Regions from separate parts of the Homo sapiens genome. Here region 2 is linked to region 1. Evidence: promoter capture Hi-C in 16 types of primary human blood cells and fetal thymus (Javierre and others, 2016). All regions are on one chromosome and are shown on one strand. Each heading gives the region's core, a stretch centred on a gene start or on the middle of the fragment in contact. The rest is flanking DNA. Distances are from core to core; before and after follow the strand shown. Region 1 holds the start of SLC19A1 (solute carrier family 19 member 1). Region 2 holds the start of TSPEAR-AS1 (TSPEAR antisense RNA 1).

The links. The method cuts DNA at HindIII sites, captures the fragments that hold promoters and counts their contacts. A CHiCAGO score of 5 or more calls a contact.
Region 2: the fragment with the promoter of TSPEAR-AS1 here is called in contact with the fragment with the promoter of SLC19A1 in region 1 in 3 of 17 cell types (M0 macrophages, erythroblasts and total B cells); the score reaches 5.8 in M0 macrophages.

The regions. Positions count from the first base shown.
Region 1 is chr21:45,537,280-45,545,103 of GRCh38, reverse strand. It overlaps SLC19A1 (solute carrier family 19 member 1), which reads left to right and starts at 2,664. Exons shown (of 6, transcript NM_194255.4): 1 at 2,664-2,736; 2 at 7,096-7,333. The coding sequence starts at 7,145. RefSeq lists silencers at 2,391-2,470, 2,511-2,820, 3,171-3,230 and an enhancer at 2,024-2,536. The HindIII fragment of the contact is 3,738 bases long and covers 1-3,394 here.
Region 2 is chr21:44,502,525-44,508,160 of GRCh38, reverse strand. TSPEAR-AS1 (TSPEAR antisense RNA 1) reads right to left here and starts at 2,117. Exons shown (of 7, transcript NR_103707.1): 1 at 1,833-2,117; 2 at 1,062-1,514; 3 at 1-124. TSPEAR (thrombospondin type laminin G domain and EAR repeats) reads left to right here. Exons shown (of 12, transcript NM_144991.3): 11 at 3,280-3,381. RefSeq lists an enhancer at 4,480-4,999. The HindIII fragment of the contact is 6,455 bases long and covers 1-5,636 here.

The DNA.
Region 1 (7,824 bases), core at 1,415-3,914:
TGTGTCTCTGTGCATGTGTGTCCATGTATTAGCATTTGGTCCAAGCCTTGCTTCCAGAGCCACAGCCACCACAACAGCACCAGCTGAGGGAAAGGGCTGCTCGAATGCCACTGCCTCCCTATGCTGACGGGGACCTTAACCACAGGGACAGCCCTGCGTCTCTCCAGCCAAGGCAGAGGACTGGCCGGTTGGTCTCAGAAGGCAGTGGGTGGGCAGGGTCCTCATTCTCTGGCAGAGATTTCTTGGGCCTGGACTATGGGTGCTAAGGCTGCCGGGGAGTGGGGGCCCAGGAGCTGGGGATGGGGCACTGCTGTGGGGTGGGCTGCAGAGCCCACCTGAGCCCCTCCAGGAGGGGAAGGGGTCTCTGCGGCCTGCAGCCCCCAGACATCACTGTATATGGCTGGAGCCTACAGGCTGGAGGGCCGGGATCCACACTGCTGGGCCCCTGCTGATCCCTCCAACCCAGGGCTTCTCCCAGGGACCAGCTCTCCCTGCCATCCCTGACGCTCAGGCACTTAACTATTTGACAAACCGATAATGAAACACGCAAGGACGGGGACCGCTGGAGGCTCGTGAGGGCCCAAGCACAGGATCCATTCCCAGATGCCAGTGTCACTCCCAAGTCACCTGCGTTTGTAAATCTCTATTTTGGGTGGAGCCCTCTGGAAGCCCACGCCCCACTGTCTGTGGCCACTCCTCGCAGTCCTCAATGGAGGTTTCTGTAAGTTCTTCACGAGTCTCCTGGCTCTTCCCTCAGAGCAGCTGCCTCTAGATTACAACTGCCAAGTGCTGTTGGTGGCAGAAGCCCTACCTCCCCACTCCGAAGCAGCTCCTGCAGGAAACCTGGGCCTTGTGTGGCTGGGGAACTCCCAGGACTCCTGCCACGCAGGGGGACCCGAGGGCAGCTTGGGCAGGCCCCTCGCGGCCGGGGGCGGATTCGCTCGGCTACACCTGACCGGAGAGACAGGTGAGGGACTGGTCTTTGTGGGTCCTGCGGGGTCCCCTTGGGGCTGTGGCTCCCTGCCTTGCTGTCTCCAGGCGGGAAGGGGGTGGGAGCCATCCTTCTGTGGGAAGGGGTCTAGGAGCCCCGCTGCTGTTCATCCCCACTTCCCCTCGGCTTCCTGGCCTGTCCTGCGTGTAAAGGGAGCAGGCTGCCCTGGCGAGCTGGCCCCATGGCTGGCTCCTCTCTGCCTGGAGGGAAGGAAGGGCCCCTCCTCCTCCGCGTTGCCCCTCCTGTCTTCCAGCAGGGCCAGGTTCTGCCCACCCGTGGAGAAGGCCAGTACAGGGGAGAGAGCCAGGGCTCCCACAAAGCAGGGGGTCCCTCCAGGTGAGGCGCTCCATCCTGTAGTGTTCCCTTAAATTCTGCAAGCTACCCCAGATCCCCCATTTCCAGCCAACAAATCCTTTTTAAGTTCCTTTGAGATTTGTTCGTGTGGCTTGCTACACTCAGGACTCTGGAAAGAAGGCCCAGGCCAGAGCTTTGGGCAGGCGGCCATTTAGGGCAAGGGCCCTGTGTTGGCTTCCTGGTGGGGTTGCCCTGCTGGTGGGCGGGAGACCAAGAGCACCCCCGCAACACCAGGAGGCAGGTCGCGGATTGTGCTGTCTACACTCCGGAAGGGGTACATTCCAGGGGCTGCTGCCCCAGACTCACCCCTCGCCTGGGACCCGCACTCTTGAGCTGTGGGTACCACGGTGGCCGTCCCCTTCTGTTCTGTGCAGTGGACTTCCTGGCTCCTCCTTAGCCTTGGGGCCCCCACAGCCCTCGGCTTGGCTTCCCTCCCCATAGCCAGGCCCTGGGTAACTCCAGGGGAAAGTGACCCTGAGGCCCCCCACTTCTCCCCGTGTCCTGCACAGGCCTTGGGCTTTCGGCGGTGCTGTCTGCCGCAGCCCCACGCCTTCCTGGGAGAGTGGCCCAGGCCCCCCTTCCTGAGTGTGACTGCGCTGCCGTCTGCGAGGCCTGCGCGGGTCTCCCCCGGGCTGTCCCTGCTGGGATGGGGACTGGTGGCCCCGGGCCACGTCCTGGATCCGGCTTGCTCCTTGGTACAAGCCCGTACGGGTCACGGTCAGGCAGGAGGGCGGGCGGCGGGGTCCCGGGGGCGCCGAGTTCGGGGCCGTGCGGTCCCCAAGAGCAGGCTGTGCGTGTCCCTGTTGGAGCCCCACGAAGGCGGCCCAGGGCCACCCCTGAGGGCGCGTGGGCCCGACCCGCGTCCCGGATCCAGCTTGCGGCCAGGAATGCAGGTGTTCCAGGGTGCCAAAAGGAAAACGCACAAGGCCTCGTCGAGGAGGGGGGGTCAGGAGGGGACCGGGGGTGGGAAGAACGCGGGGGAGAGGGATGGCAGGGTGCCCGCCCGAGGGACCGACACCTCCGCGAGTGGCACCCCAGGATGCTGACGCCGGCGGGGGTGGGGGCCCGAGGGGCGGTCGGGGTCAGGGGGCGGCCCCAGGGGTAGGGCCGCAGCACGAGGGGCCGCGTGACCCCGGCGGTGACCGGGTGGGGAGAGGCCGGCGCCGGGGCTGGGAGACGGCCGTGGGTGGGAGGGTGCCCCGTGGGGACGCTCCTGCCGCAGCGCCCGGCCACGCGCGAGGCCCCGCCCTCAGGACGCGTTCGGCGGGACGGACCCGCCCACCCCGCAGCCGCGCGCCCGCCGCGCCGCCTTGTGGGCGCTGTAGTCCCGGAGTCCGCGTGCGCGGGGCCGGGTCCGGGAGCCCCAGGGCAGCCGCCCCGCCGAGTCGCAGGTACCGGTGGGGAACGGGGCCACGGGGCCGCGTGTCGGGGGCTGCGGGGTGTCTCGGGGCCCTGGGGTGAGTGCGGGGCGCGGGCCGAGGTTTGCAGGGCCCTGTGAGGTGAGTGTGGGGGCTGGCGCTGGGGTCCGCGGGGCCCTGGGGAGGGTGCGGGGCGTGGGCCGGGGTCTGCGGTCTGCAGCCTGGGGTCCGCGGGGCCCTGGGGAGGGTGCGGGGCGTGGGCCGGGGTCTGCGGTCTGCAGCCTGGGGTCTGGGGGGCCCTGGGGAGGGTGCGGGGCGTGGCCGGGGTCTGCGGTCTGCAGCCTGGGGTCTGGGGGGCCCTGGGGAGGGTGCGGGGCGTGGGCCGGGGTCTCCGCGGGGGTCGCGGTGGCCCGGGCGCCTGGCAGAACCGTTGCTGTGCAGCGGGTTTCCCGCCGCTCGCTTTCCGCCGCAGCCTGCGAATGGGGTGGGGAGTCCCGGCCCCCAGCCTGCCCTCCGCGTCATCCTGGGGCGCCAAGTCCCACCCCCGGGTCTGGAGGAAAGCGTGGATCCGGCGTTCGCGCCCAGGCACGTGTTGCTTCGGGACGGGCCAGCCGGTGGGTGAACCCTGCCAGCCACGCGTGGGGCGGGCCCCTGGCACATCTCCAGACCATTGTCTCCTGTGCCAGAAGCTTTGTAGGTGCAACTTCCCCTTGGAGCAGCTGTGGGTGCGGATCCAGCGGAGCAATCCCGAGGCGTCTCAGAGAGAGCCTGGACAGCCGCTGGAGCCTTTCCCGAGTGGGTCCTTCCAACACCGCTACAGCAGGAAAGCCATCCCCCTAGGGTCCTGTCCATCGGAAACTCCTGTCCTGGGGAGTCTGGCCTGCCTGGCCTCAGGACACAGGCCAACTAAGCTGGCCCCGAAATCCAGAATGCATCCAGAGGGAAGGTGGGATAAAGTCCTTGGAGGCGCCTGTTGGCCGCCCTGTAAAGAGGTGGCCTCCCCCTACGGAGACCCGAGGATCCCCGCACAGCCCAGATTCAATCAGCAGAGCCGAGGTGCCTCTGGCCCAGTGCACCTGCCTGCCCTGTCCAGGCCTGGGAGCCAGGCTGCATCTCACTGGCCGCCTTTGCCTGGGTGCCACCTGTGCACTGCTTGTTGCAATTGCTAATTGCTTTCTTTCCGAAGGGGCTTTGGTGGATTTTTATAATTCCAGATAGTACAGTTATCTCTGCTGGACACAGATGAGAAAGAGTGCTTCTCGGGTGTTTGGGCCTGCAGCAGTGATAGCCGGAGGGTCTAATTATGCTGTTAGGAACCCTGAACTTGGTCATCTGAACAGGGGTGGGAGGGTGTGCAATGCTTTCTTCTTCTTCTTTTTAAACTAGCAGGCGTTCTAAAAAACATAACGAACATTCTTGGTTAGCCTTCCAGAGTAGGAGCTGGTTTAAACACGGAATGATAGGTGGCGTTTGCTTGTGTTTTGATTGCGGGTCTCTGGCCTTCTCTGGTGCTTGGAAGGACAGGGCCTGGGTGGGGCTGGTCACTGTGGACAGTGGGGCCGGGGATTTGCAGGGGCTGTTACAACCTTCTCCTGAAGGCAGGGATTCTCTCTGCTTCCCCGTGGCCCTCCTGTCTGGTCGGGGACTTCCTTCAGATGCCGGGAAGAGGCCTCAAGCTGTATGGGACTGGGCTGGGGTCTGGACACTTGGAGTCTAGGCGTCCCCTGGCTTGGGGCTGCGTTTCTATGATGGTGACCAAGTTCCCTATCTTTCCTCTTGGAGGTGGTCTGGGCCGTGATGGCCAAGCCTCTGTCAGTGGGCTACGTTCACGGCACATAAGTTGAGTATGCTGGCAGCAGAGGCTGACTGTTAAGACCAGCAGCAGCCCCTTGCTGGCGGAGACTCTGGCTGTCTCTCCAAGGAAGGAATGTTCTGGTCGCTTCTGGAGGTGGCACCTTTCAGAACAGGGGGCCCAAGTACCCAGGGCTCCCGGGCCCCTGGGGGTCCTGTGGGTGGGGATCTGACTCCTGCGGCCATGGACTGTGGGCGCAGACCCTGGGCTTAGTTCAGCTCCTGATGGCTCCCCGTTGTCTGCGGCGATCTGGTTGCTCTGGTTGTCTGGGGATCGGTGCGCCTGTCTAAACCTGCTGACAGGTGGGAAAGTGAACTTGACAGGGAGTCCCAGGGCCAAATGGGTCTCCCAGTGGGGAGGAGTGGGTGCGGTCTGAGGTATGTCCAGCTCTACCCGTGGCCTCTCTGGGCATCAGGGTCCCTGGTGATGGAGCCCAACCTTTGTGCACTGATCTTCCCAGCTGTTGACAGGCCCTGAGGAGGCATGGAAGGTGAGGCCGAGGCAGGCGACCGTCAGATCTGCCTCGGCCTGGCAGTGGCCCCTGCCTGCGCTTCCTCCTGCCTGGCCGGCTGTTTTCATCCTGGCCCTTTGAGAACTTCTAGGGTCCTGGCTGCCTCCAATGGAGGGTGCTGGTCCCATCTTCTTCCCAGCTGTGCCCTGCCGTGGAGCTCCGGAAACCTCGAGGTTCCCCTAACCCTTCCCCCTCTTCCCTGCGGCCCCCATTGCAAGCCCACCAGCCTCTGCCTCTTAAGGGCTTCCCTGCCATCACCTATGTTCCTTTGTCACAGACATGAGTGTGTAGAGGTGTCAAGACGGGACCCCAGATGATGCTGATGGCTTTGCCTAAGTGGCCTGGGGAGGGTCTCTCTCTCTGGTCCCTGAAGGCCACCTTTTTCCTAAGCCTGTGTGTCAGGTTGGGGGCGGTTCAGGGAGCACTTCCAGCCTGAGTGGTCTCTGATACGTGAAGACTGAATGCTGAGAGCCTGGGGCAGATTTTCCTAGGGGTCCCTGGACCCCCAAAGCTGGCCCCACATCGAGGGATGCTCTGAGCCCCTGCTGGAGGGTTGGAGGAGACTTCTCAAATCCAGACCCTCTGCAGACCCCCTGCCACCCTCCCAAGCCGGCCCTGTGGCGAGGCACAATTGTCCAACTGTCAGCCCAGTGCAGATGGGACGGCGACCCCGCCCCACAAGGCTGCTCAGCTGCCCTCTGCATGCGCTGCATCCCCACCCCACCTGAGCAGCAGATGGCCTTTCCACGTGCACTCTGCCAGGCCTGGCCTCCGGGAGCAGAGGTCAGCTGATACAGACGTGAGGTGCACCTGTGGGGGACCAGGGCCAGGTCCTGGCCTCACGGGGTTGGCTTGGTGTGGGCGTCTGACACACTTGTTTATGGCAGTTCACTTTTGACTTACTTGAAGGAGAACTTTACACCGAGGCCTTAATGGAAAACCAGGGCCACGTGGCACCTGGAGACATGATTCTGATAAGTGGACAGGCTTTTGCCCCGCAGCTGAAAGGCACGATTTGTGGTGGTGAGACGTGCCCTTGCCCGCACCGGAGGAGCCTTTCTCCTGGGCAGAATCAGGACTGAAAGAGACACGCCCTCGAGTGTGCTTCGTGCTGCTGCTGCTCCACCACGTGCCCTGGCCGTGTGGGGCGGGGGTGCTGGCGGGATGGTCCCCAAGGTTGGGTGCATGTTGCCTCGTGGATGAAGTCCTGTGGTCTGGGGTGCTCCATCTGGAACGTGTCAGGTCCACTCATGGCTCCTGCCAGCTGCTTTCGTCTAGGGTAACCTGCCGCCGGGGATGCTGGGGTCCCTGGGCTCAGGGGCTGGGCCTCGGCTCCATCCCATCCTCCCTCCCACGCGTGTTTCAACCCTGGCTGCTCTCAGCCCCCTCAAGGACACCTGCTTTTCCCTCTGCCCTTCCCTCACTGTGGGCTTGGCCTGCACGCCCTCCTGCCAGGGCACGCGGCTGATGGGGACCTGAGGCTGGTACCTGCAGCCACCCGCCGCTGGCCACCTGTGGTGTGACCCCGGCCTCCAGCAGCGTCCGTTCCTGCCTGTGCCCTCCCTGGGCCACCTGGGTGCCGCTAGAGCAGCAGCAGGCACGTGGGCTGCCCTCAGGCCTGTGGGGTGAGGTGTGCCCCCTGACCGCCACAGGTACTGCCCAGCAGTGCCATGAGTCTAGTGTGGCCCCAAACCCTAAATTTTGTTAGTTTAGTTAATAAAGTAAGTCAATTAGTTAATTAACTTGGTTTTGATTGGCACTTAAATCACTCCATGTGGCTGGAGACTTCCCTCAGCCTCGGAGACCCTGGAGGTGGTGACAGCCTGGCCTGGGGGACTCCGGAGCAGCTCAGGTGTGGGTGGCTCCCAGTTTGGTGCTACGGGGTGAGGATGGGTCTGGGGTCTGCATTCGTCTCCAGGGTGGCGTTTGGTCCTGAGTGGCGAGGAGGCCGGCACTGGGCCTCGTTTTGCGGGGTAGGGAGGCCTGCAGACCATCTTCCAAGGTGCCCTGACTCCACCCCTCCTTCCAGGCACAGCGTCACCTTCGTCCCCTCCGGAGCTGCACGTGGCCTGAGCAGGATGGTGCCCTCCAGCCCAGCGGTGGAGAAGCAGGTGCCCGTGGAACCTGGGCCTGACCCCGAGCTCCGGTCCTGGCGGCACCTCGTGTGCTACCTTTGCTTCTACGGCTTCATGGCGCAGATACGGCCAGGGGAGAGCTTCATCACCCCCTACCTCCTGGGGCCCGACAAGAACTTCACGCGGGAGCAGGCATGTGGGTGCCGGGGTGCCGGGCGGCCGCCTGTGGGTGGGTGGGCGGGGAGCAGCGTCTGGAATAGGCACGTGGGCGCCGGGATGCGGGGGCGGCCGCCAGTGGGTGGGCAGGGAGCAGCTTCTGGAATAGGCACGTGGGCGCTGGGTGCCAGGGCGGCTGCCTGTGGGTGGGCGGGGAGCAGCTTCTGGAATAGGCACGTGGGTGCCGGGGTGCCGGGCGGCCGCCTGTGGGTGGGCGGGGAGCAGCTTCTGGAATAGGCATGTGGGCACCGGGGTGCTGGGCGGCCGCCTGTGGGTGGGCGGGGAGCAGCTTCTGGAATAGGCACGTGGGTGCTGGGTGCCAGGGCGGCCGCCTATGGGTGGGCGGGGAGCAGCTTCAGGGGCCAGGGCGCTTTTCCTGTTGGATGTGTGAGCACTTGAGGCTGGAGCGGGTGAGTGGCCGTGTCAGCTGATAATATGGTCCTGGAGGGAACCCGGCTGGGGTCTCA
Region 2 (5,636 bases), core at 868-3,367, 1.0 Mb after region 1:
AGAAGACTCGGGAAGGGAGTGCCCTCTCCGTCAGCAGTCACCCTAGGACCGGGAGGGCTGCAGGGGTATGTAGACAGGCCAGGAAGGACTTTCCCTATTTGCCCTGTTACTTCTGAACTCCTGGCTTTACAAAGGATGACAATGTTAACTTACTAATATCTTACTTATATGATTTTTAAAAATTAAAAAAAGAACACTCATAATAAAGAAAAAGAGCCAGCGGCGGTGTCTGCTGGGGGCACTGGGGATTCCGGGGTGACCTGCCTGTGGGCTCCGTGGCCCCTGCGTGGCCTGGCAGCCATGGCAGGAGAAACAGGCACGGGGCGGCGGTGGCAGTTGTGTGTCCCCAGCACGAATCCACGCCATCCAATGTCAACGCCGAGAACAAAACAAACATTAGGCTTTTTAGAACAACATTTAGAATAAGACAAGTTGGAGAATGAATTGTGATTAAAAATTAGTCATGGACATGATGCCCAGTCTAGAAACAGATGAGGCAGACGCCTCGGGATTTGAAAGCTGCGGGAACTGACAGAACACAGCTACACACTCGCGACTTATGGCCCTGTCACCACTGGACAGTGGTATGGACAGTTTATGAACTAAATTATGAAACACAGAAAGTACTTACCAATTAATTAAGGTAATGTTTAATAATTACCATCAAAACAGCACACACAAGTCAAACTCCTAGCCCTTCTACCCAGCATGGGGAATTCCCTACACTTCCCGGAGACGTGATGTGGCCTCACCAAGTCCAAAACCCTATTCAAGGGCGCTGAGGGGTTTTGTGGCTTCTGTGTGTAACCTTGGCTCTGACTGCCTTCAAATGGTCGCTTGTGTTTGCTTTTTAGATTCAGTAGTTCTATTAAATCCACAGATATGTGCAGCCATGGCTGCAGACAACTCTGGAACATTCTCATCCCCTCACAAGGAGCCCCCCACACCCTTTTCCAGCCCCTCCCTCCCAACTGGGCACCCCCGGGCCCACTTCCTGTCTCTGTGATTTCCCGTTCTGGACACTGCACAGAAATGGACTCGTAGAGCCGTGGCCTCTGTACCTGGCTTTTTCTCGCAGCACCGTGTCCTCCGGGTTGGTGGTGTGGCCGCGCGGCTCAGAGCATCCCCCTTCTCATGGCTGAGTCACACTTCATCCGTCCATTTGTCCGATGATGGGCATTTGCCAGAGGGCGTGATTCTGAAGAATAACATCTGTCCTACAGCGAGTGTGACCCAGGGCTGCTTTGGAGGCAGAATCGGGCACTAGATGCCTTATTTTGTGGTGAAACCGAAGCCGGCTTCTGATGTGAGCCTCGGTGCAGCCGGACAGGATCTTCCACCACTGGTACATCCGACGTGGCCGCTTGTCTTCCTCGGGTCTGGGTTTCAGAGCTCAGATCCGACTGAGGAGTAACCCCGCGGATTCACACTGACCCGGGGCCCGCGGCCGTGCCTCCAGACCAGAGCATGTGATCACAGGCGTCCTCGTCCTCCTCCCAGCGAGCTGGCACGGGCTGCATGGGAACCAAATCATAACCCACCATTAATGGAGGTGGCTCCAGATGTCACCCTGACTGACCGAAGGAGTGAGGAGCCCAAGGCCCCATGGGCTCTGCCCGCCCTGCCTGTCACTGGACACCTCTGTGATCCCTCCCTCTCCCAAGGCCCTGTCTGAGCCCCTGCTGCAGGCCGGCCCCACAACTGCCTGCAGGGAAGCACCGGGATGAGGCCCCTCTGCTGCCTGAACTGGCCACAGCCCTGAGGCTGCTGAATACAGAGGCACCCGCCTGGCCTGCATGTCAGCAGGACGCCTGCGTGTGCATGGCTTCGACCTCCATTTCCTCATCTTGAGATGTGGGGCTGACGCTGACAGCTCGGCAGGTGGGCTCCTGGGGAGGAAAGGATCCAGGGGAGCCGCTCCTCAGACCCCTCAAACCGAGCCATCCCCAAGCACAGATGCATCCTTGGTAAATTCAGGTGAGACTCCTAAGACAGGACACAGCAAATTTGTTTGCAACAAGAAACAGCTTCTGCTTCTAGGAGAACATCTGTGAACGAGCAGGTCCTGCAGGTCCTGTAGGCACCTCCTGGAGTGACCTCACGGCCGCTGACCTCACAGCTGAAGACACAATGCTGAGAGAAGAAACCAGGCACAGAGGCCACAGCACTGTGACGCCATTTCTGCACAGTGTCCAGAGCGGGAAACCAAGCTCCTGCCTCCAGCAGGCACCAGCAGCCTGAGACTTTTTCTCTGATTGTTTCAACCTCTTAAAAGTGGACTTTTGTACCCCGGTGTTCATAGCAGCAGCATTCACAGTAGCCACATGGAGGAAATTCCCCAAGTGTCTGTCAGCGGATGGACAAACACAACGTGTCCATTCACACAGCGGAGCGTTACTCGGCCTTAGAAAGGAAGGCGATTCTGACACACAGTGCGACACGGATGAACCTTGAGTCACTGGAGTCTCAGCTAAGGCAGACACAAAGGACAAATACCGTGCGATTCCATTCATATGAGGTCCCTAGAGTGGTCAAATTCATAGAGACAGAAAGTGGCGTGGTGGGTGCCGGGGCTGGGGGGGGGGGGGGGGGGAGGGGGGAGGGGGTGATGTTTACTGGGTGCAGAGCTTCGGTTTTGCAGGATGAAGGCGTTCTGGAGGTGGATGGTGGGGGCGGCCACACAGCAGTATGAATGTGCTTAATGCCCCTGATCTGTGCACCTAAAGATGGTTGAGGTGGGAAATGTTATGTTATATGTATTTTACCATAATTTAAAATTTGAGGCCAGGCATGGTGGCTCATGCCTGTAATCCCAGCACTTTGGGAGGCTGAGGTGGGCAGATCACTTGAGGTCAGGAGTTCAAGACCAGCCTGGACAACATGGTGAAACCCTGTCTGTACTACAAATACAAAAATTAGCCGGGCGTGGTGCCGCACACTTGTAATCCCAGCTACTCGGGAGGCTGAGGCAGGAGAATCGCTTGAATCCGAGAGGCAGAGGTTGCCGTGAGCCGAGATCTCGCCACTGCACTCCAGCCTGGGTGACAGAATGAGACTCCATCTCAAAAATAAAATAAAATAAAATTTGAAATTTTTTTTAAGCAAACAACTAATTTACATTTTCCTGGAATAGACCAACACATATGTGACTGTGAGAAAATCACTCCCCACTTTGGCCCCGGCTCCTCCTCTATAAATTTTGGAGGTAGCTTCTGGCCAATCCCCCAGTTCCCTGGCGATGTCTGTTGTGTCCTAATATCCACCCACTTGTTCCTGCAGTGCTCTGGACTGGGAGTTTTTCTCGGTGGGAGAAGATTATTTCCTGGTGGTGGCCAACTCCTTCGATGGGCGTACCTTCTCGGTGAACAGTATTATTTACAGGTAATGAGCTGCCGAGGCCGGCCTCCTCCCAGAGCCTTGCTTCCCCACTGTGGGCTCACCGAGGCCGGCCTCCTCCAAGAGACTTGCTTCCCCACTGTGGGCTCACCGAGGCCGGCCTCCTCCAAGAGACTTGCTTCCCCACTGTGGGCTCACCGAGGCCGGCCTCCTCCAAGAGACTTGCTTCCCCACTGTGGGCTCACCGAGGCCGGCCTCCTCCAAGAGACTTGCTTCCCCACTGTGGGCTCACCGAGGCCGGCCTCCTCCCAGAGCCTTGCTTCCCCACTGTGGGCTCACCGAGGCCGGCCTCCTCCAAGAGCCTTGCTTCCCCACTGTGGGCTCACTGAGGCCAGCTTCCTCCCAGAGCCTTGCTTCCCCCGAGGGCTCACCGAGGCCAGCTTCCTCCAAGAGACTTGCTTCCCCCGAGGGCTCACCGAGGCCAGCTTCCTCCCAGTGCCTTGCTTCCCCCTAAGGGCTCACCGAGGCCGGCTTCCTCCCAGAGCCCTGCTTCCCCCTGAGGGCTCACCGAGGCCAGCTACCCCCCGAGGGCTCACCGAGGCCGGCTTCCTCCCAGAGTCTTGCTTCCCCACTGTGGGCTCACCAAGGCCGGCCTCCTCCAAGAGACTTGCTTCCCCACTGTGGGCTCACTGAGGCCGGCTTCCTCCCAGAGCCTTGCTTCCCCACTGTGGGCTCACCAAGGCCAGCTTCCCCCCAAGGGCTCACCGAGGCCAACTTCCTCCCAGAGCCTTGCTTCCTGCTGAGGGCTCACCGAGGCCGGCTTCCTCCCAGAGCCTTGCTTCCCCGCCGAGGGCTCACCAACTCCGGCCTCCTCCCAGAGCCTTGCTTCCCGCCGAGGGCTCACCGAGGCCAGCTTCCTCCCAGCACATTGCTTCCCCCCTGTGGGCTCACCAAGGCCGGCTTCCCCCCAAGGGCTCACCAAGGCCGGCCTCCTCCCAGCGCCTTGCTTCCCCCCGAGGGCTCACCGAGGCCAGCTTCCTCCCAGAGCCTTGCTTCCCCCCGAGGGCTCACCAACTCCGGCCTCCTCCCAGAGCCTTGCTTCCCGCCGAGGGCTCACCGAGGCCGGCTTCCTCCCAGAGCCTTGCTTCCCCGCTGTGGGCTCACCAAGGCCGGCTTCCCCCCAAGGGCTCACCAAGGCCGGCCTCCTCCCAGCGCCTTGCTTCCCCCTGAGGGCTCACCGAGGCCAGCTTCCTCCCAGCACATTGCTTCCCCACTGTGGGCTCACCAAGGCCGGCTTCCCCCCAAGGGCTCACCAAGGCCGGCCTCCTCCCAGAGCCTTTCTTCCCCCCGAGGGCTCACCGAGGCCGGCTTCCTCCCAGAGCCTTGCTTCCCCCCGAGGGCTCACCAACTCCGGCCTCCTCCCAGAGCCTTGCTTCCCGCCGAGGGCTCACCGAGGCCGGCTTCCTCCCAGAGCCTTGCTTCCCCCCGAGGGCTCACCAAGGCCGGCCTCCTCCCAGAGCCTTGCTTCCCCCCGAGGGCTCACCGAGGCCAGCTTCCTCCCAGCACACTGCTTCCCCCCGTGGGCTCACCAAGGCCGGCCTCCTCCCAGCGCCTTGCTTCCCCCCTGTGGGCTCACCAAGGCCGGCTTCCACCCAAGGGCTCACCGAGGCCGGCCTCCTCCCAGAGCCTTGCTTCCCCCCGAGGACTCACCGAGGCCGGCCTCCTCCCAGAGTCTTGCTTCCCCCTGAGGGCTCACCGAGGCCAGCTTCCTCCCAGAGCCTTGCTTCCCCCCGAGGGCTCACCGAGGCCGGCTTCCTCCCAGCACCTTGCTTCCCCACTGTGGGCTCACCGAGGCCAGCTTCCTCCCAGAGCCTTGCTTCCCCGAGGGCTCACTGAGGCCAGCTTCCTCCCAGCGCCTTACTTCCCCGAGGGCTCACCGAGGCCGGCCTCCTCCCAGAGCCTTGCTTCCCCCCAAGGGCTCACCGAGGCCGGCCTCCTCCCAGAGCCTTGCTTCCCCCCGGGGGCTCACCTTCTCTCGCAGGTGCCACCGGCTCACAGCGAGTCCCAAGTCAGGTGTCATTTCCGAGATTGGCTGGGCCCAGTGGATGGCCCGGCGCTGGCTGCACCCGTGTGGGATCTGAGCTGGGGCCCTGCCCCGGGTGTAGCCACAACCCACGAGTGCTGGTGCTTCTGCCTTTGGATTCTGTCAGGGATGCGGCGTGTGGACATCCTAACATGGGAGTTGTTGATATTTAATTTTTCTCTCATAGACACTGTGGTGTTCTCATTTATTTCCAGGA